Linked DNA regions of Homo sapiens: all the other regions are linked to region 2. Evidence: promoter capture Hi-C in 16 types of primary human blood cells and fetal thymus (Javierre and others, 2016). All regions are on one chromosome and are shown on one strand. Each heading gives the region's core, a stretch centred on a gene start or on the middle of the fragment in contact. The rest is flanking DNA. Distances are from core to core; before and after follow the strand shown. Region 1 has its middle 11 kb from the start of MIR3141. Region 2 holds the start of FAXDC2 (fatty acid hydroxylase domain containing 2). Region 3 has its middle 8.5 kb from the start of MIR1303. Region 4 has its middle 28 kb from the start of MIR1303. Region 5 has its middle 41 kb from the start of MIR1303. Region 6 has its middle 20 kb from the start of MIR1303.

Region 1 (3,210 bases), core at 403-2,902, 240 kb after region 2:
GGGAAGGAGTTTCCAGGCACAGGAAGAGCCAGTGCCAAAGTCTCAGGGCAAGAGCAAATGAGGAGGGAAGGGGTCTGAAAGGGAAGGAAGGCAGGCAGGCGAAGCTGGAGCACCCCACAGCCAGGGCTGAGATCAAAGAGGAGGGCAGGGCCCGATGGGTGGGGCAAGGTCTGGGTTTCATTTTAGACGCAGAGGCAGCCCCCTGAAGGGTTCTAAGTAGGAGAGTGAGGTATTCTCATTTAGTTTTAATCTCTCTGGCTGCCAGTGAGTCCCTCCCTAAAGTTCCCCTTCCTCCCTCCCCAGCAATCTAATCCACAGATGAGAACCCGGGAGCATAACTGGTAGCCGGGGCTGCTGACCCTGGCCCAGGGTCTGCAGGGTTAATCCCGGGGGCCTGGAGCAGCCCCTGATTAGCAGGCCCTGCCACTCCCTGCTGATAAACTCCCAGGCAGGAAGAGGCAGGACTCATCCGGTAGGAAAGTGGAGAAACCAAAGCTGGTGAGGAGGGGAGCTCCAGGAGCACCTTAGGAGGGCTCTCTTCCCCTTTTGGAGGTGGTGAGTTCCCTAGGTGAAAGCCCTCTGGTTTTATCCCTCATTTGGCATTTTCATAGCCACTCTTACAGTCAGGGCCTGGTGTGGATTTTATGGGCCCCTGTTTAAGGAAGAGAAAACAAAATTAGGTGCAGGGCTTTAGAAGAGCCATGTGTACATGAGGTCCCCTGAGACCTAAGCTTCACTAGCTCCATGGTAAGTGTCCATCTCTAATTTTCCATCAGGGGAATAAGCCCTGTATACAGATGAGGAAGTTGAGGCTCTGAGAGCCTGAAAGGGATATAGAAAACAGAAGGGTTTCTGCTGGGATTTCTTATCCCCCAGCCCAGAACTCATTCTACCACCCAATCCATCTAAAAATCCAGTTGTGCCTTCTCCTTGCAGACCTGCTCCCACCACCAGGCTCAGGCCACAAGGAAGGGTAGCATAGGGCATGGTGGAGATGGGCGGGCTGGTGGCAACCTGCAGAGGGAAAGGGCTTAGCATGAAGCAGCATCCCTGTTGGGGACAGGATCCTGGGTGGCCAGGATTCCATCTGCCTACCAGACATTCCAAACCACACATTGTTTTTTTTTTTTTTTTTTTTTTTGAGACAGAGTTTTGCTCTTGTTGCCCAGGCTGGAGTGCAATGGTGCAGTTTTGGCTCACCGCAACCTCTGCCTCCTGGGTTAAAACAATCCTCCTTTTGCTGTGAACCGAGATCACGCCTCTGCACTCCAGCCTGGGTGACAGAGTGAGACTCCGTCTCAAAAAATTAAAAAAAGAAAATAAAGGAATCCTCTTGTCTCAGCCTCTCCAGTAGCTGGGATTACCAGCGCCTGCCACCACGCCCAGCTAATTTTTGAATTTTCAGTAGAGACGGGGTCTTACATGTTGGCCAGGCTGGTCTTGAACTCCTGACCTCAGGTGATCTGCCTGCCTCAGCCTCCCAAAGTGCTGGGATTACAGGCATGAGCCACTGCGCCTGGCCCCCAAACCACACATTCTAAACCACCTGGAGGTCAGAGCAGCGGCTCCGGGATCTGGCTGAAGATCAGAATCCCTGGGAATTTGTTAAAATGCCATCCCTGGGCTCTAATCCAAAGCTGCAGAATGAGAATTGCCAGGGGTGGGACCAGAAATTTGGGCATTGAACACACTTTCCAGGTTCTTCTTCAGCACAGGTGGGCTGGAACCCCTGATTTAACCATCAGCCTTGCCTCCTGGGGGTCTGCCTACCTGTGCCAGGGTGGGTCCCCAGGAGTTATCAGGGACAAAGGAATCCCCTTTTCCTGGCAGGGGTGAATGTGAGTGTCTAGGGCTGACTGCTCACATGATAGCATGGAGTCTCAGCTCTGGCCAGCATGACTCTGGGAAGACGAGGACAAGACCCAGGGCTTGGTGGGGACGGGCTTTGCCAGGGCATGAATCATGCTTCTAGTGCTTCTAGGGGAGCCATCTCCAGGACTCCCTCCCCTCACCTCTAGAATGGAGTTGAGGAGGCCTGACACGAGAATTATTAAAGCACTTAGGATCCTTCTGGTGACCTTTAGAGAAGCTGTGCTGTGTGCCAACACAGTCCTAGAGGGAAGAAAGACACATTCCTGATGACAGACAAGGAAGCTGAGGTCCTGAGAGGTAGGGTAACTTGTCCGAGATTACCCAACTAGGAACTGGCAAGACTGAAATTTGAACTCAGGGTGGTCTGATTTCAGGGCATGTCATTTTTAGGCCATCCTGTCTTGTTTGGCTCTCTTTTCATTTCCTGTCATTTCGCTAGGTGATATTCATTGAGCACCTCTTTTGTGCCAGTGGAGAGCTGGCACCTCCACTCCACCGTTCTGCAGTGAGGTTGGATAAGGCACGAGGTGGTGGCCCTCTGGAAACTGTAAAGTGCTCTCTGGCCTTGGAGGATTCTTCTCAACCGTGTGGCTCAGCTCTCTCTGTGCTTTCTTCACAGCCTAACTGGGCTGGGAGAGTGCTATCTCTGGCTGAGAGAACCACAGACTTCAAGATGTATGAGGGCTACCTGGGAAGCTTGTTAAAATGCAGATTGGAACCACCCCCAGAGATTCCAATTCAGTTGGTCAGAGCTGGGCCTTGGGCTATGCATTTTTGACAACTGTCTAGATTGTCTGCTGCGGGTGGTTTGAGCATTGCACTTTAAGATATGGTACACTATAATAGAAAGACAAAAGTCAGAAGAAAGACGTAGTGACCATCTGGCAGCCCAAGTCTTAGATAATGAAAGTTAAGGACTTTCTTCTTGCGAAAATGCATAAACTCACCTACATCCAAGATTTTGAAGTTTCAGGAAGTTTTGGGTCCCTGAAGGCCAGCCATGCAATTATGGATCCTTGGACCCCAACTTAATAACCCCTGATCTCCATGCTAGGCTCACAGGTCACCTGGGCAATGAAGGCCCCCCTAGGCCTCCCAATAAAGTTGCTTCTCCTCTGTGTTCCTGTAACACAGTAAGGACTTAACTCCATCAGAGTTGTGGTTTACCCTATTTACGCCTCTCCCCCTGGACTGTGGGGCATGTGGAAGTCATTTTCCTCCTCCTTCCCGGCGCAAGGTAGGATTATACTGTCCTGTCCCCTTTGAGGTTAGACATATCCATGTGATTACTTTAACCATGAAATGTTAGCAGTAGAAACTATAAGCCAGTGTGTGAGT
Region 2 (3,213 bases), core at 560-3,059:
CATGGCAGCTCTTAAGGGTACTATATGGAGCAGTCTCCATGTTTTGTTGTTGACAGTTTTATTTATTTTAGAGACAGGGCCTCATTATGTTGCCCAGGCTGGTCTCTAACTCCTGGGCTTAAGAAATTCTCCTGCCAGGCCAGGCACGGTGGTGGCTCATGCCTGTAATCCCAGCACTTTGGGAGGCTGAGGTGGGCAGATTATGAGGTCAGGAGTTTAAGACCAGCCTGGCCAATATGGTGAAACCTCATCTCTACTAAAAAAAAAAAATACAAAAATTAGCCGGGCCTGGCAGCGCACACCTGTAGTCCCAGCTACTCGGGAGGCTGAGGCAGAAGAATCGCTTGAACCCAGGAGGCGGAGGTTGCAGTTAGCTGTGATCATGCCATTGCACTCCAGCCTGGGTGACAGAGCAAGACTCCATCTCAAAAAATAAAAAAAAGAAATCCTCCTGCCTCAGCCTTCCAAAGATTGCTGAGATTACAGGCATGAGCCACTGCACCCGGCATTTTTTATTTTGTTTTGTTTTTTAGAGACAGGGTCCCACTCTGTCACTCAGGTTGGAGTGCAGGGCACAATCATAGCTCACTGCAGCCTCCAACTCCTGGGCTCAAGCCATCCTCCCACCTCAGCCTCCCCAGTAGCTGGGATAACAGACATGTGCCAGTAAGCTCTACTAATTTTTTGTATATGTAGTAGAAATGGGGTTTTGCTACATTGCCCAGGCTGGTCTTGAACTCCTGGCCTCAAGTGATCCTCCCGTCTTGGTCTTCCAAAGTGCTGAGATTATACATGTGAGCCGCCGTGCCCAGCCAAGTTTCTGAGTTTTGTTTATTTTAGAAAGGAGTCTTCCTGTGCTGCCCAGGCTGGTCTCAAATACCTGGGCTCAAGTGATCCTCCAACCTCAGCCTCCCAAATAGTTGGGACTACAGGTGAGCACCACCATGCCTAGCCAATCTCCATGTTTGATTGTTAAGTGGAAAAAGCAAGGTGCACAACAAACATACTATGGTGCTGTTGCTAAAGGAGAAGCACAAGGCCTACACATGTTTCTATTTACAGAGGTAAGCTCTGGAAGGATATACAAAAATCTGGTCACAGAGGTTGTCTCTTGGGAGGAAAAAAAGGGGACTGAGGAGAAATTAAAAAAAGACTTTTCATTGTACATTCTTTTGACCCTATTGTATTTTATATCATTTGCACATTTGCTTATTTAAAAAGTTTTCAGAAATTTAAAAGCAGCTCTTTTTCCAAAGTGCTCCTCACTTCATGTCATGGGTCCTGTATCCTAAGTTCCCCTATTTCAATCACAGTGCAAATTTACCCTCCACAGGCATGCCTTTCCTGCATCTAGACTCACTAGAAATAGCTGATGCATCTCTCCTCCCTTGCCTGCCCTCCACAGGAAAAGAAGCAATGAAAAAAAAGAAAATGAGATCCTCTGGTCTCTGTCACCTTTTTATCAACTTGTACTACCTGCCATTATCTGACACCCACATCTTTTCTTGAATCTGCCTCCTCCTATGGGACAGCGACATTTTCTTAAGTTGCAGATGATGGAGAAAATTTTTTAAAAGAAAAAAAGGGGGCAGGGGGAGGGAAGCCCAGAGTTTGGCCAAATGCACGTTTTTCAAGTTCCTGCTTGAGCTTAGATTCCCTTTCCGCTTTAAGGACATGCCCTCTGGAAAGAAGGGTGTTTTGTTTCCAGCCCACACAGACCCAAACTTTTTTCATCACGTGCCTGGTCCGAGCCAGTACGCAGCTCTGTAATGAGATCACCATGGCCAGCCTCCCACCCGAGCAAAAACAAGGTTAGCCTGCAGCAGAGCCGCAGCAGCAACAGCCACCAAAGCGGGGGCTGAAAGGGAAGAGAACTTAGATTTGACCTGTGCAAGGACCTCAGCAGCTTGGACACAGCCCACTGCAGAGGTAAGTGGGAACTACGGGGGAGGGGTGGTGTTTGCAAAGGTCAGGACATGTCCAGGTTCACTTAAAGTAAGGGCAAAACAACACTCTTCCCACCTCTGCCACCACCCTGTCCTCTCTACTTATGGCAGGGTTAGATTTGCCTCTAAACAGGGTTAGATGGCAGGGTTAGAATTTGTCCTAGGACATTGCTGTAGTGCAGTCGCCTCCTTGTCTCTTACTAATGTCTGTATCCTCTGCCTGTGTTTGTACCATCTACCTCCTCAGTAGTCTAATTTTTCTAGCAATTGACAGGTGATTGTAATGGACAAGTAATTGTTTGACTTTAAAACCATTTGTAAAGGAGCAACTCCTAATTCAGAACTCAAATGAGAGGCAGAACAAACTGGAAGAGACTGTTGGGAAGCAACTGCTGCCTAATTGCTTCTCATCTCTACTCTGCCATCACCAGGAAGGTATGGGGCAAAATACAACAGTTTTAAAGTCTCTGGATAGATGTGTGGGCTATGAGCTAGACAAGTAGGTTGAAACTGTTTTGATGCAACATACTTGGATTTACCAACAGTGGCTCCAGTTGTGAAATCGTTAGTGGCTTGATAGTACCTATGGAAACACTCCACGAAGGTTATTGAGTAAAGGGCATACAGTAAAGTGTGTAGGTGGAGATGAACAATAGAACAGTGGCTTTCAGGACCTTCTGGGGCTTAAGGCAAGCAAGACAAGATGCTGATTTGTGGGTTGCTTCAGTTTCATGTGCAATTCCAATTAAATTTCTTTGAGTGGGATATACAGATTCAATTCAATTTGCTAAAACACAGATGCACTGAGCATCAGCTTCTAACTTTAGTTACGAAAGTAATTAGCACAAGGGAATGGTGCTAAAATGTTCCATAGCAAATGTTGAACACTTTTTGAGGGCAAAAAGCAATGCTTTTGATTCGTGTATCTCTTATTTATTCGGCAAATCTTTCTTGAGTATCTTCTACATGCCAGGCTTGGGCTTGATTCTGTGGATCTCGTGGTAAACAAGACAGGCAGATTCTCGGCCTCATGGACATGCAATCAAGCAGAACAGTAAGCTCAAAGGGTGCAAGTACCATGCAGCAAAAGGAGTGAAGAGAGTATTACTAAAACTGGCCCATGGGAATCATTTTTAACCTTTCCTTTCATGCATTTCATCTTCTGTTTTTGTTTTTTTTGTTTTTTGAGATGGAATCTCGTTCTGTCACCCAGGCTGGAGTACAGTGGCGCGATTTCAGCTCACTGCAACCTCCACCTCCTGGGTTC
Region 3 (2,986 bases), core at 56-2,555, 160 kb after region 2:
CTTTGCCTCCCGGGTTCAAGGGATTCTCCTGCCTCAGCCGCCCAAGTAGCTGGGATTACAGGTATGCGTCACCACGCCTGGCTACTTTTTGTATTTTTAATAGAGACAGGGTTTCACCATGTTGGCCAGGGTAGTCTATAACTCTTTTTTTTGAGACGGAGCCTTGCTCTGTCTTCCAGGCCGGAATGCAGTGGCACGATCTTGGCTCGCTACAACCTCCGCCTCCCAGGTTCAAGTGATTCTCCTGCCTCAGCCTCCTGAGTAGCTGGGTTTACAGGCGCGCGCCACCATGCCCAGCTGATTTTTGTATTTTTAGTAGAGACGGGGTTTCACCATGTTGGTCAGGCTGGTCTCGAGCTCCTGACCTCGTGATCTGCCCGCCTCGGCCTCCCAAAGTACTGGGATTTACATGCATAAGCCATATTGTGATATTAATGAGGGCCCCAAATTTGCTATTAGAGCACTGAAGAAGTGCTTTTTCTTTTTTTTCTTTTTTTGAGACGGAGTCTCACTCTGTCCCCCAGGCTGGAGTGCAGTGAGGCGATCTCTGCTTACTGCAAGCTCCGCCTCCCAGGTTCACGCCATTCTGCCTCAGCCTCCCGAGTAGCTGGGACTACAGGCACCCACCAACACGCCTGGCTAATTTTTTGTATTTTTAGTAGAGACGGGGTTTCACCATGTTAGCCAGATTGGTCTCGATCTGCTGACCTCGTAATCCGCCCATCTCGGCCTCCAAAAGTGCCGGGATTACAGGCGTGAGCCACCGTGCCCAGCCTAGAAGTGTTTTTTAAAAAACTTTTTATTTTGGGCCAGGTGCAGTGGCTCACGCCTGTAATCCCAACACTTTGGGAGGCTGAGGCAGGAAGATTGCTTGAGTCCAGGAGTTGAAACCCTGTCTCAACAACAATAACAAAAAAAAGGGAAAGAAAATTTTTCTTTTGAAAATATCAGAAAAATAAAAAAAAACAATAAACCAAATACCTATACATCAATCACATAGCAACAATTGTCAACATTTTACTGTTTTCTCCATCTCACTATATATAAAATCTGTGGCTAAAGCATTTTAAAGCTAATTACAGATATTCTAACACTTCAACCCTAAACACTTCAGCATGTATTTCCAAAAATTAGATCATTCTCTTCCATAACAATACACTTAACACGTCTCACAAAATTAGCAATAATTTTCTTATATCATCTAATACCAAGTTCATAGTGAAATTTCCCCATTGTCTAAAGCATGGTGGGCCAGGTATAGTCGCTTACACCTGTAATCTCAGTGCTTTGGGAAGTCAAGGTGGGAAGGTGGCTTGAAGCTAGGAGTTCCAGGCCAGCCTGGGCAATGTAGTGAGATGTCATCTCTACTAAAATAAAAAAAAAAAAATGGCCAGGTATGATGTCTTGCACCTATAGTCCCAGCTGTGGGGAGGCTGAAGAGGGAGGATGGCTTGAGTCTAGGAATTTGAGCTTGCAGTGAGCTAGGATCACACCACTGCACTTCGGCCTGGGCAACAGAGTGAGACCCTGTCTCAAAATAAATAAATAAATATGATAAAAATAAAAACGTGGTCCTTATTTTTTTATAGTAATAAATCAAGATATAATCAAGAATCACATCTTATATTTGGCTTGTTAGACTATTAGGTCTCTTTAAATCTAGAACCTCCTCCCCATTACTTTTTTTTGTTTTTACAACATTGGCTTTTAAGAGATTATGGCAGTTGTCTTATAAACTGTTTCACATTCTGGCTTTGTCTGATTGCTTCTTTGTGTGTTGTTTAACGTGTTCCTCTATCCCCTGAACTTTTCGTAACTGAAGCTAGTTCTTATAGGCCTCATTAGATTCAGGCTCAATATTTTTCACAGGAGCCAAAATAGGTGGAGCTATGTAGTCTACTCCATCCTATTAGGGGTGAGAAAAGAACTTTCTTTCTTTTTTTTTTTTTTTTTTAGACGGAGTCTTGCTCTGTCGCCCAGGCTGGAGTGCAGTGGCGCGATCTCGGCTCACTGCAAGCTCCGCCTCTCCAGTTCACGCCGTTCTCCTGCCTCAGCCTCCCGCGTAGCTGGGACTACAGGAGCCCGCCACCACGCCCGGCTAATTTTTTGTATTTTTTAGTAGAGACGGGGTTTCATTGTGTTAGCCAGGATGGTCTTGATCTCCTGACCTCGTGATCCGCCCGCCTCGGCCTCCCAAAGTGCTGGGATTACAGGTGTGAGCCACCGCGCCCAGTCGAGAAAAGAACTTTCATCTGGGCAATTCAAGTCCTTTTAAATTAATAAATGAGACAGTAATCAGTCCTACATCCCACTTTAAGCTATGTATTCATCTCTTAAAACTGCTTGCCAGGCCAATCACGAACCAATGTTATTTCTGTAAACCAATGAGAATTCCTGACACACAACTCTGTAATAGCCCTCTCCCTATTCTTTTTTTGTCTTTAGAAACCTGCTTGTGAGCCTGGGCAACATGGCAAAATCCGTCTCTACAACGAAATAAAAAATTAGCAGGGCGTGGTGGCTCATGCCTGTGGTCCCAGCTACTTAGGAGGCTGAGGTGGGAGGATTGCTTGAGCCCAACAGTTTGAGGCTGCAGTGAGCCGAGATCATGCCACTGCACTCCAGCCTGGGCAACAGAGTGAGACCCCGTCTCAAAACAAAATGAAACAAAGAAACCTGCTTGTGACCAGTCACAGTGGCTCACACCTGTAATCCCAGCACTTTGGGAGGCTGAGGCAGGAGGATCCCTTGAGCCCAGGAGTTCGAGAACAGCCGGGGCAACATAATGAGACTTTGTCTCTACAAAAAAAAAAAAAATAATTAAAAATTAAAATTAGCTGGGTATGGTGGTGCGTGTCTGTAGTCCCTAGCTACTAGGGAGGCTGAGGTGGGAGGAAATATACATATACACACACATATATATGTTTAAACACCTGCTTGTATGTAACAAAGGCCAAATGGAGCTCATATCTGAGGTTACTTGATT
Region 4 (3,022 bases), core at 265-2,764, 140 kb after region 2:
GAGGTCGGGAGTTCAAGAGCAGCCTGACCTACTAAAAATACAAAATGAGCTGAGCGTGGTGGCACATGCCTGTAATCCCAGCTACTCAGGAGGCTGAGGCAGGAGAATCGCTTGAACCCGGGAGGCGGAGGTTGCGGTGAGCCGAGATCAAGCCATTGCACTCCAGCCTGGGCAATAAGTGAAACTGACTCAAAAAAAAAAAAAAAAAAAAAGAGAGGCTTGCCCCAGAGCAGGGGACTGGCTAACATGACCCTTCAGGGGCCTTAAAATCTTCAACTTTAATTTCTTCTTTTTTTTGAGACAGAGTCTCGCTCTGTCGCCCAGGCTGGAGTGCAGTGTCGTGATCTCGGCTCACTGCAACCTCTGCCTCCCGGGTTCAAGCGATTCTCCTGCCTCAGCCTCCTGAGTAGCTGGGATTACAGGTGCCCACCACTCCGCCCAGCTAATTTTTTTGTATTTTTAGTAGAGACGGAGTTTCACCATGTTGGCCAAGCTGGTCTCAAACTCCTGACCTCATGATTTGCCTGCCTCAGCCTCCCAAAGTGCTAGGATTATAGGCGTGAGCCACCGCACCCGGCTTCATTTTTAATTTCATTAGCTCCTGTGCACATGCACACATGCGTATACGCACACAACGCTCACACACATTGTTACTCAAATACCTGCCTGAGTTCCCTATTCCTAGAAACTGTTTTGGCTTTCACTTTCACTCCACTCCTTCTACCATAGGCTCTACCCCGAGAGAGGGTGCTGCCACAACCCTTGAAACCAACATTCTCTGAGATTTATTTACTCAGCAGGGAGCTGCAGGAAAGGAGAGAACAGGGTGGCTGAAGCTCAAGTGACTGCACAGAAGGGGCTTTGAAAAGAAAAGTGACTTACACCCAGGGTCATCAGTAGGTCTTACAGTATATATTTGAGCCCAAGATCCTCTACTCCAACATGCCTGTTCTAACCATTGTATTATCCTGCTGCTTCCAATGGGGCCACATTCCAGGACTGGGTTCCCATCCCACGAGTCGTTAGAAAATACCATGACTCAGTGAGCTATTTCCCCTTTCTTTTTGTTTATATGATTGTACATTTCAAAAAGTCCCAGTAAATGGTATTTTTTTAAAGTAAAAGGATTTAAACAAGCAGCCACGATTCCATCATAATCAGTAATTCTTTTATCACATTAATTATTATCACACAGTGATTGGAGAAAATAATTACTACAGAGGCCGCATTTTACAAAACATTCATTACCTTACCTCATCAATCCCAAAATGTATTTTTAAATCTGAATTTATCTTAAAATCTGTGGAATCTAAGCTTCCATGGAACAGACTTTGTTTGGTCATAAGAACAATCCTGGTAGGCAAGCATTGCCCAGATTACAATCCCCATTTTGCAGCTGGGAAAACTGAGTTCAAAGAGGTAAACAATTTGCCTGAGGTCACAGAGCTAGTCAGTGCAGAACCAGAACTGCAGGCCTAGCTCCTGATTTTCAGCACAAGCGGTATCTACCATATATTCCTGGCCTCCAGGCCCTGTGTTCATACCTACCTGTTCCCATCACTCTCCTGGCCACACCCTAACAGAGGGCTGAGGGAGACCTCAGCTCCCCCAACCAGGCTTCCCTAGCCTCAGCCAGCTAGAGGTGGGGTAAACTCACTGTGGGGACTCCTGGGAGCAGTCTCTCCACATAGGAAATTTTTAAGTCCAAAGCTTTCACTTTCAAGAATGAACCCTGTGTGTGAGGCAGCACTGCAGAGACCAAAGCTCAGCTTGGGCGTGAAGGCAGGATTTTGCTGGTGTCCTTATAAACCCCATGCAAACTAGATCTAGGAGTTCCCCACCTGGGGACCCCATTCCCTGGAAATTACTCACAAATGCTCTATTTCTCATATTTCAAAAGGTCAAATGAAAATCAAATATCGACTCTAGATAAGATCTCACAGACAGAATAAAATACTACACTGCTTTTGGCTAAACCTGCATCAATTTAGTGGTTTGTGTCTGCTAACCAAAAAACACTGATTGGCTATTACAGGGCCACAATTCACATAGAAGAGGAAAACCAATTAACAAATTATTATGTAACAGGTGCAGCTGACAGACTTAAATCTTTCAGAACAAGGGGTGTGACAAGGGAAAACAATAGAAGAGGAAAGCTGAGAGTGGAATTTGAGCTCCTCATTTTCCCAGATGGGGAATGTGAGGTTCAGAGAGCTGGAGTGACTCGCTCAGGGTCACACAGCAGGGCTGGAACCAGCACCCAAGGTTTCTGCCCCTAGGGAGAAGGATCTTCCTACCACACCCTGCTGTCCTGAGGTTCAAGAAACGCAGAGTGCTAGGACTCACCAGGGTTGCTGAAGGGGGCCAGGACAGGGAATGGCAATGGCTTCTCCCTGTCACCTGTGGGCTCCTTCCTCGGGGCAGCTGCCAAGGCCACGCTGTTTTTCCTCCCTGGGAGTCTGCCAGGGCAGCTAGGTATGGGAGCCTCTTGGAAATCCAGCTCTGGGTGAGGGAAAGGAGGCCTCTTTGACAAAAGCACCCTCCAAAGCATGGAGTGACCAGGGCCTGGGGTCACTATGTGGCCCTGGAGGGTTTAGGTACATCCAGATCGCACAGCTGCCTCCTGGCTCTGGCCCGGGAGCTCTCCAGGTTGCCAGGCTAGTTTTCCTTCCAGACGCTGGGTGCCTTTAAGAGAGCGACGGCAGCTCATTGGCCGAGCAAGGCTACCCCACCTCTTTACCTTAGCGGGGAGCACAGCTAGGCTAGAGGCAGAGAGACTCAGGTGAGTAAACAAATGGTGGCAACCCGCTGAGTCTCCCCTCCTCCACAGCCCTGGTCCTGGGCTTCCTTCCTCACCTCCACTCTCCACCCTGGAAAACAAGCTGGGGCTAAAGGAAGAGCAAAACACTCTGCAAAGTGCTTAGTGCGGTTCAGACTACATGATCTCACAGTGACCCTGGGGCAGAGTTATTAGTACATCTTCTCTTTTCAGTGGAACAACTGAGTCCTTGGAGGGGTGAAG
Region 5 (3,128 bases), core at 78-2,577, 210 kb after region 2:
TTCACCATGTTGACCAGGCTGGTCTTGAACTTCTGACCTCAGTTGATCCACCTGCCTCGGCCTCCCAAAGTGCTGGGATTACAGGCGTGAGCCACCATGCCCGGTTTGTGCTAACACTTTTCTAGGCATTATCTCATTTAATTACCAGCAGAGGGTGAGTGCTTTAACTCTTTAGAGGAAGCTTAGAGAGGTTGACAGGCCTGCCCAGGCTTATTAGCTGGAGTGTGGATGGACCCACAGCTGACCCTCCTCAGCAGAGCACTCCAGTACCTGCAAAACTGTGGGCAGATGTCTGTGATTCTGAGATCGATTGGGAGTTGGGGTCCGGCTTTTCTTTTCTTTCTTTTTTTTTTGAGTTGTAGTTTCACTCTTGTTGCCCAGGCTGGAGTGCAGTGACAGTGATCTCAGCTCACTGCAGCCTCCACCTCCCCAGCTCAAGTGATTCTCCTGCCTCAACCTCCTGAGTATCTGGGACTACAGGTGACCACCACCATGCCTGGCTAATTTTTTGTATTTTTAGTAGAGACGGGGTTTCACCATGTTGTCCAGGCTGGTCTCGAACTCCCAACCTCAGGTGATCCGCCCGCCTTGGCCTCCCAAAGTTCTAGGATTACAGGCATGAGCCACTGCGGCCTGCCTGGGGTTTGGCTTTTCAAATCTCAGTAGGTAGGTTGGTTTTTGTTTTTTTTTTTCCCTTTGGTGTGCTGTGGGTTGAGGATGTGGGCACTCGACTCAGTCAGCCTGATTTGGGATCCTGGCAGTGCCACATTCTGGCTGTGGGCCAAGGGGCAGGTCACTCAGCCTCTTTCAGACTCAGTTTCCTCATGTGCAAAATGGGAGTAGTACTGGTACCTGCCTCATAGGGCCTGTGAGAGAAATGCGTGGAGTCACTTAGCACTGAGCCTGGCTCCTAGCAAAAGCTAAAAATACGCAATTGTTGCTCTTAATTATTCTTACAGCCTATAAAACAGCTTTGTGTGCATTATTTGATTTGATTCTCACAATAGCACTGAGAGGATGTACAGGGGCAGATTTATCTCTGTTTTTTTTTTTTTTTTTTTTTTTTTTTAACACAAAGCGACCAAAGTTCAGAGAGGATGAGAGGCCTGGTCTAAGTCACAGGGCCATGACCTCAAGTTCAGGGAGGCTGGTTCCTCTCACCACTGCATTCTCTAAAATACTGTCCAAGGGAAATATAAAGGCAATCACAAATGTAATTTTAAATATTCTAATAACCACATTAGGAATCATAAAAGCAAACAAGTGAAAGTAATTTTAATAAGATATTTCATCTACTATATAAAAATATTACATTTTAACATGTAATCAATATAAAATCATTACTTTTAGGGAAAAGAAAGAGAGATCAGACTGTTGCTGTATCTATGTAGAAAAGGAAAACATAAGAGATTCTATTTTGACCTGTACCTTAAACAATTGCTTTGCTGAGATGTTGTTAATTTGTAACATTGCCCCAGCCACTTTGCCCCAACCTTGAGCTCACAAAAACATGTGTTGTATGGAATCAAGGTTTAAGGGATCTAGGGCTGTGCAGGATGTGCCTTGTTAACAAAATGTTTACAGGCACTATGCTTGGTAAAAGTCATCGCCATTCTCTAGTCTCAATAAACCAGGGGCACAATGCACTGTGAAAAGCCACAGGGACCTCTGTCCTGAAAAGCTGGGTATGGTCCAACGTTTCTCCCCATGTGATAGTCTGAAATATGGCCTCGTGGGATGAGAAAGACCTGACCGTCCCCCAGCCCGACACCTGTAAAAAGTCTGTGCTGAGGTGGATTAGTAAAAGAGGAAAGCCTCTTGCACTTGAGATAGAGGAAGGCCACTGTCTCCTGCCTGCCCCTGGGAACCGAATGTCTCGGTATAAAACCTGATTGTACATTTGTTCAATTCTGAGATGGGAGAAAAACCACCCTATGGTGGGAGACGAGACATGTTGGCAGCAATGCTGCCTTGTTATTCTTTACTCCACTGAGATGTTTGGGCAGAGAGAAACATAAATCTGGCCTATGTGCACATCCAGGCATAGTACCTCTCCTTGAACTTAATTATGACATAGATTCTTTTGCTCACATGTTTTTTTGCTGACCTTCTCCTTATTATCACCCTGCTCTCCTACCACATTCCTTTGGCTAAAATAATGAAAATAATAATCAATAAAAACTGAGGGAACTCAAAGACCAGTGCTGGTGCAGGCCCTCCGTATGCTGAGTGTCGGTCTCCTGGGCCCACTGTTGTTTCTCTATACTTTGCCTCTGTGTCTTATTTCTTTTCTCAGTCTCTTGTCCCACCTGGTGAGATATACCCACAGGTGTGGAGGGGCGGGCCACCCCTTCATCTGGCGCCCAATCTGGGGCCTTTCTCTAGGGTGAAGGTATGCTAAGAACGTGAACATTGAGAACAGCTGATGAGAGATTCCCAAGTATGTCCACGGTCAACCTTGCGGTAAGCTTGTGTGCTCGGAGGAATCCAGGGTAACAATGGGGCAAGCTGAAAGTAAATATGCCTCTTATCTCAGCTTCATTAAAATTATCTTAAGAAGAGGGGGAGTTAAAGCTTCTACAGAAAATCTAATTATGCTATTTCAAACAATAGAACAATTCTGCCCATGGTTTCCAGAACAGGGAACTTTATATTTAAAAGATTGGGAAAAAATTGGCAAAGAATTAAAACAAGCAAGTAGGGAAGGTAAAATCATCCCACTTACAGTATGGAATGACTGGGCCATTATTAAAGCAACTTTAGAACCGTTTCAAATAGAAGAAGATAGTGTTTCAGTTTCTGATGCCCCTGAGAGCTGTGTAATAGATTGTGAAGAAGAGGCAGGAACAGAGTTCAAGAAAGGAATGGAAAGTTCACATTGTAAAAATGTAGCAGAGTCTGTAATGGCTCGGTCAATGCAAAATTGTTGACTATAATCAATTACAGGAGGTAATATATCCTGAATCATCAAAATTGGCAGAAGGAGGTCCAGAATTATTTGGGTCATCAGAGTTTAAACCACGACGGCCATCAACTCCTCCTCCTGCGGTTCAGATGCCTGTGACATTACAACCTCAAATGCAGGTTAGACAAGTACAAACTGCAAGAGAATATCAAGTAGAAAAGGA
Region 6 (3,313 bases), core at 572-3,071, 180 kb after region 2:
CATCTGTAGTTCCAGCTACTCTGGAGGTTGAGGTGGGAGGATTGCTTGAGCCCAGGAGGTCAAGGCTGCAGGAGGCCATGATGGTGTTACTACACTCCAGCCTGGGGAACAGAGTGAGACCTTGTGTTTATTTTTTTTTCTTCACAAAGACAGGGTTTCACAATGTTGGCCAGGCTGGTCTTGAACTCCTGACCTCAAGGAATCCACCCTCCTTGGCTTCCCAAAGTTCTGGGATTACAGGTGTGAGCCACTCTTCCCGGTCTCAGCTAATTTTTGTTTTTTCTACAGACAGGGTCTCGTCATGTTGCCCAAGCTGTTCTCAAACTCCTGGGCTCAAGTGATCCACCTGCCTCGGCCTCCCAAAGTGCTGGGATTACAGGCATGAGCCACTGTGCCCAGCCTCTCATACCATTTTTAAAATGTAAGCCATCACAATGTGTAATAATATTTGTAATGGTGTGTTTATCTCTTTCAGGTCTGCTTCTTCCACTAGACTGAAATTTCTTTTTTTTGAGACAGAGTTTCATTCTTGTTGCCCAGGCCGGAGTACAGTGGCACGATCTCTGCTCACTGCAACCTCTGCCTTCCAGGTTCAAGCGATTCTCTTGCCTCAGCCTCCTGAGTAGCTGGGATTGCAGGTGTGCGCCACCACAACTGGCTAATTTTTTGTATTTTTAGTAGAGACCGGGTTTCACCATGTTGGCCAGGCTGGTCTCGAACTCCTGAACTCAGGTGATCCACCTGCCTCAGCTTCCCAAAGTCCTGGGATTACAGGCATGAGCCACCGTGCCGGGCCTAGACTGAATTTTCTTTGAGAACAGAGCCTGTGTCTGTTTTGTACAAATCACAGGGCCGAGTACAGAGTAAGTGCTCAATAAGTATTTGTTCAATGAATGAAAGAGTGAGTGAGTGAATGAATGAACAAATGCCTTCTCTTCTTGAGGTCTCAAGCTCCTCTTAGGAAAAAGTCTACACTTGACTCCTTTCTTTTCCACAGCTTAGCTCTGAACTCCAAGTGAATATTTATGGAATCCTGATTAAGTGGCATGGAATATAGATAATTGAGAATACCTGTTTTTTCTCTCTTCTGGGCTCCAGTCTGCCCTGTGGCCTGGAAATAGGAGGTACTGAATAAAGATTTGTTGAGTGAATAGTGTACAGTCTGGCCCTCTGACAAGGAACAAGGAGGTATGGGGATAGCATTTCAGCCTAGCACATGAGGCCCTGAGAATCCAATGAATACTGAATCCCTGACCAGCCATCAGATTTTAAGGGCAGGCAGAAGCCAGCTCTGAGCTCGACCAGGCTGTGCATGTTTCAAATTCCTGGGAGCCAAGGCTCAGAGAGAAAGAGGAACTTGCTTGAGGTCACCCAGGATGTTGGCAGAGCCAGAATGAGGCTGCACAGCTCCCAGTTTAGTCCTTTCCCCTGTTTAGTGTTCTCCCCACCACCTCTTGCTGCCTTCCAGGTAAGAAGAGAAAGGAAAAGGAGGCCTGGATGCCTAGAGATTTTCCACTTCTAGCAAGAACACCGTCAAGCAAGAGTTCAACCCACCCATTTCACAGATGTGATAACTGAGGTGCTGTGAGGCTGCAGGCCTTGCCTCACAGAGAGTTTGCAGGGGCTAGAAGCCCAGCCCAGGTGACCCCAATGTGAAGCTTTTTCTATATGTATGTACTATTTCTCTACTATTTCTTGACCAGCCTAGAGTGAATCTCACCTCCCCAAATGATATGGTATGAACGTTTGTCCCTGCCAAATCTCATATTGAAATATAATTCCCAATGTTGGATGTGGGGCCTCATGAAAAGTGATTGGATCATGGAGGCAGATGCCTCATGAATGGATTAGCACCATCCTCTTAGTTCATGTAAGATCTGGTTGTTTCAAAGAGTCTGGGACCTCCCCCTTCTCTCTCATGCTCCCACTCTTGCCCTGTGATGTACCTGCTCCCCCTTTGCCTTCCACCATGATTGTAAGCTTCCTGAGGCCTCACCAGAAGGAGTTGCTGGCATTATGCTTCTTGTACAGCCTGCAGAATTGTGAGCCAATTAATACTCTTTTCTTTATAAATTACTCAGCCTCAGGTATTTATTTATAGCAATATGACAATGGCTTAACACAGAAAATTGATACCAGAGGCCAGGCGTGGGGGCTCACACCTGTAATCCCAGCTACTCGGGAGGCTGAGGCAGGAGAATCACTTGAACCCAGAAGGTGGAGGGTGCAGAGAGCCAAGATCATGCCATTGCACTCCAGCCTGGGCAACAAGAGTGAAACTCCATGTCAAAAAAAAAAAAACAAAAAAACAAAAAACAAAAAACAAAAAACAAACAAACAAAAAAAACCCCAGAAAATTGGTACCAGGAGTAGGGTGTTACTATAAAGATATCTGAAAATGTGGAAGTGACTTTGGAATTGGGTAACAGGCTGAAGTTGAAAGAATTTGGAGGGCTCAGAAGAAGACAAGAAGATGAGAAGACAAATGATTTTGACCAAAATGCTGATAGTAACATGGACAGTGAAGGCCAGGCTGACAAGGTCTAAGATAGAAATGAGGAAGTTAGGCAGGGCACAGTGGCTCATGCCTGTAATCCCAGCACTTTGGGAGGCTGAGGTGGGCAGATCACCTGAGGTCAGGAGTTTGAGACCAGGCTGGCCAACATGGTGAAACCCCCATCTCTACTAAAAATACAAAAATTAGCCGGGCATGGTAGTGCGTGCCTGTAATCCTAGCTACTAGGGAGGCTGAGGCATGAGAATCACTTGAACCTGGGAGGTGGAGGCTGCAGTGAGCCGAGATCGTGCCACTGCACTCCAGCCTGGGCGACAACAGCAAAACTAAAAAAAAAAAAAAAAAAAAAGCAAAGAAATGAGGAGGTTATTAGGAACTGGAGTAAAGGACACCCGTTTTATGACCTAACAAAGAACTTGGAGCATTGTGTCCATGTCTGAGGGCTCTTTGGAAGTTTGAACTTAAGGGTGACGACCTCTGGTATCTGGTGGAAGAAATTGCTAAGCAGCAAAGCATTCAAGATGTGGTCTGGCCACTTCTAATAATCTAAATGAGATATGGGAACAAAGAAATAACAAAGTTGGAATTTATTTTTAAAAGAAGAGTAGAGCATAAAAGTTCGAAAAATTTGCAGCCTGGCCCAGTGGTGGAGAAAGAATCCAAGTAGGCTGTGGAGTAACCACTTGCTACAGAGATCAACATGACTAAAAGGCAGCCAGGTGTTAATATCCAAGACAATGGGAAAGAGGCCTCAAAGCCATTTCAGAAGGTTTTTGGAAAGCCCCTTCCATCACAGGT

What was found. Contacts are between HindIII fragments. The CHiCAGO score rates a contact against its expected background, and 5 or more counts as called.
Region 1: a contact is called between a fragment that was not itself captured here and the fragment with the promoter of FAXDC2 in region 2, in 1 of 17 cell types (activated CD4 T cells). The highest score is 6.7, in activated CD4 T cells.
Region 3: a contact is called between a fragment that was not itself captured here and the fragment with the promoter of FAXDC2 in region 2, in 6 of 17 cell types (non-activated CD4 T cells, activated CD4 T cells, total CD4 T cells and 3 more). The highest score is 7.9, in non-activated CD4 T cells.
Region 4: a fragment that was not itself captured here is called in contact with the fragment with the promoter of FAXDC2 in region 2 in 7 of 17 cell types (activated CD4 T cells, non-activated CD4 T cells, neutrophils and 4 more); the score reaches 9.1 in activated CD4 T cells.
Region 5: a fragment that was not itself captured here is called in contact with the fragment with the promoter of FAXDC2 in region 2 in 14 of 17 cell types (activated CD4 T cells, erythroblasts, monocytes and 11 more); the score reaches 17.5 in activated CD4 T cells.
Region 6: a contact is called between a fragment that was not itself captured here and the fragment with the promoter of FAXDC2 in region 2, in 12 of 17 cell types (activated CD4 T cells, monocytes, total B cells and 9 more). The highest score is 14.1, in activated CD4 T cells.

Annotation. Positions count from the first base shown.
Region 1 is chr5:154,605,811-154,609,020 of GRCh38, reverse strand. No RefSeq gene overlaps it. Among named protein-coding and RNA genes, the nearest start is that of MIR3141, 11 kb to the right of the region's middle. The HindIII fragment of the contact is 1,837 bases long and covers 734-2,570 here.
Region 2 is chr5:154,849,199-154,852,411 of GRCh38, reverse strand. FAXDC2 (fatty acid hydroxylase domain containing 2) reads left to right here and starts at 1,809. Exons shown (of 9, transcript NM_032385.5): 1 at 1,809-1,929. The HindIII fragment of the contact is 21,500 bases long and covers 1-3,213 here.
Region 3 is chr5:154,692,823-154,695,808 of GRCh38, reverse strand. It overlaps a transcript of LARP1 not described here. Among named protein-coding and RNA genes, the nearest start is that of MIR1303, 8.5 kb to the right of the region's middle. The HindIII fragment of the contact is 4,028 bases long and covers 1-2,986 here.
Region 4 is chr5:154,712,455-154,715,476 of GRCh38, reverse strand. It overlaps a transcript of LARP1 not described here. Among named protein-coding and RNA genes, the nearest start is that of MIR1303, 28 kb to the right of the region's middle. RefSeq lists an enhancer at 2,543-3,022. The HindIII fragment of the contact is 396 bases long and covers 1,317-1,712 here.
Region 5 is chr5:154,642,875-154,646,002 of GRCh38, reverse strand. No RefSeq gene overlaps it. Among named protein-coding and RNA genes, the nearest start is that of MIR1303, 41 kb to the left of the region's middle. The HindIII fragment of the contact is 2,287 bases long and covers 184-2,470 here.
Region 6 is chr5:154,664,151-154,667,463 of GRCh38, reverse strand. No RefSeq gene overlaps it. Among named protein-coding and RNA genes, the nearest start is that of MIR1303, 20 kb to the left of the region's middle. The HindIII fragment of the contact is 322 bases long and covers 1,661-1,982 here.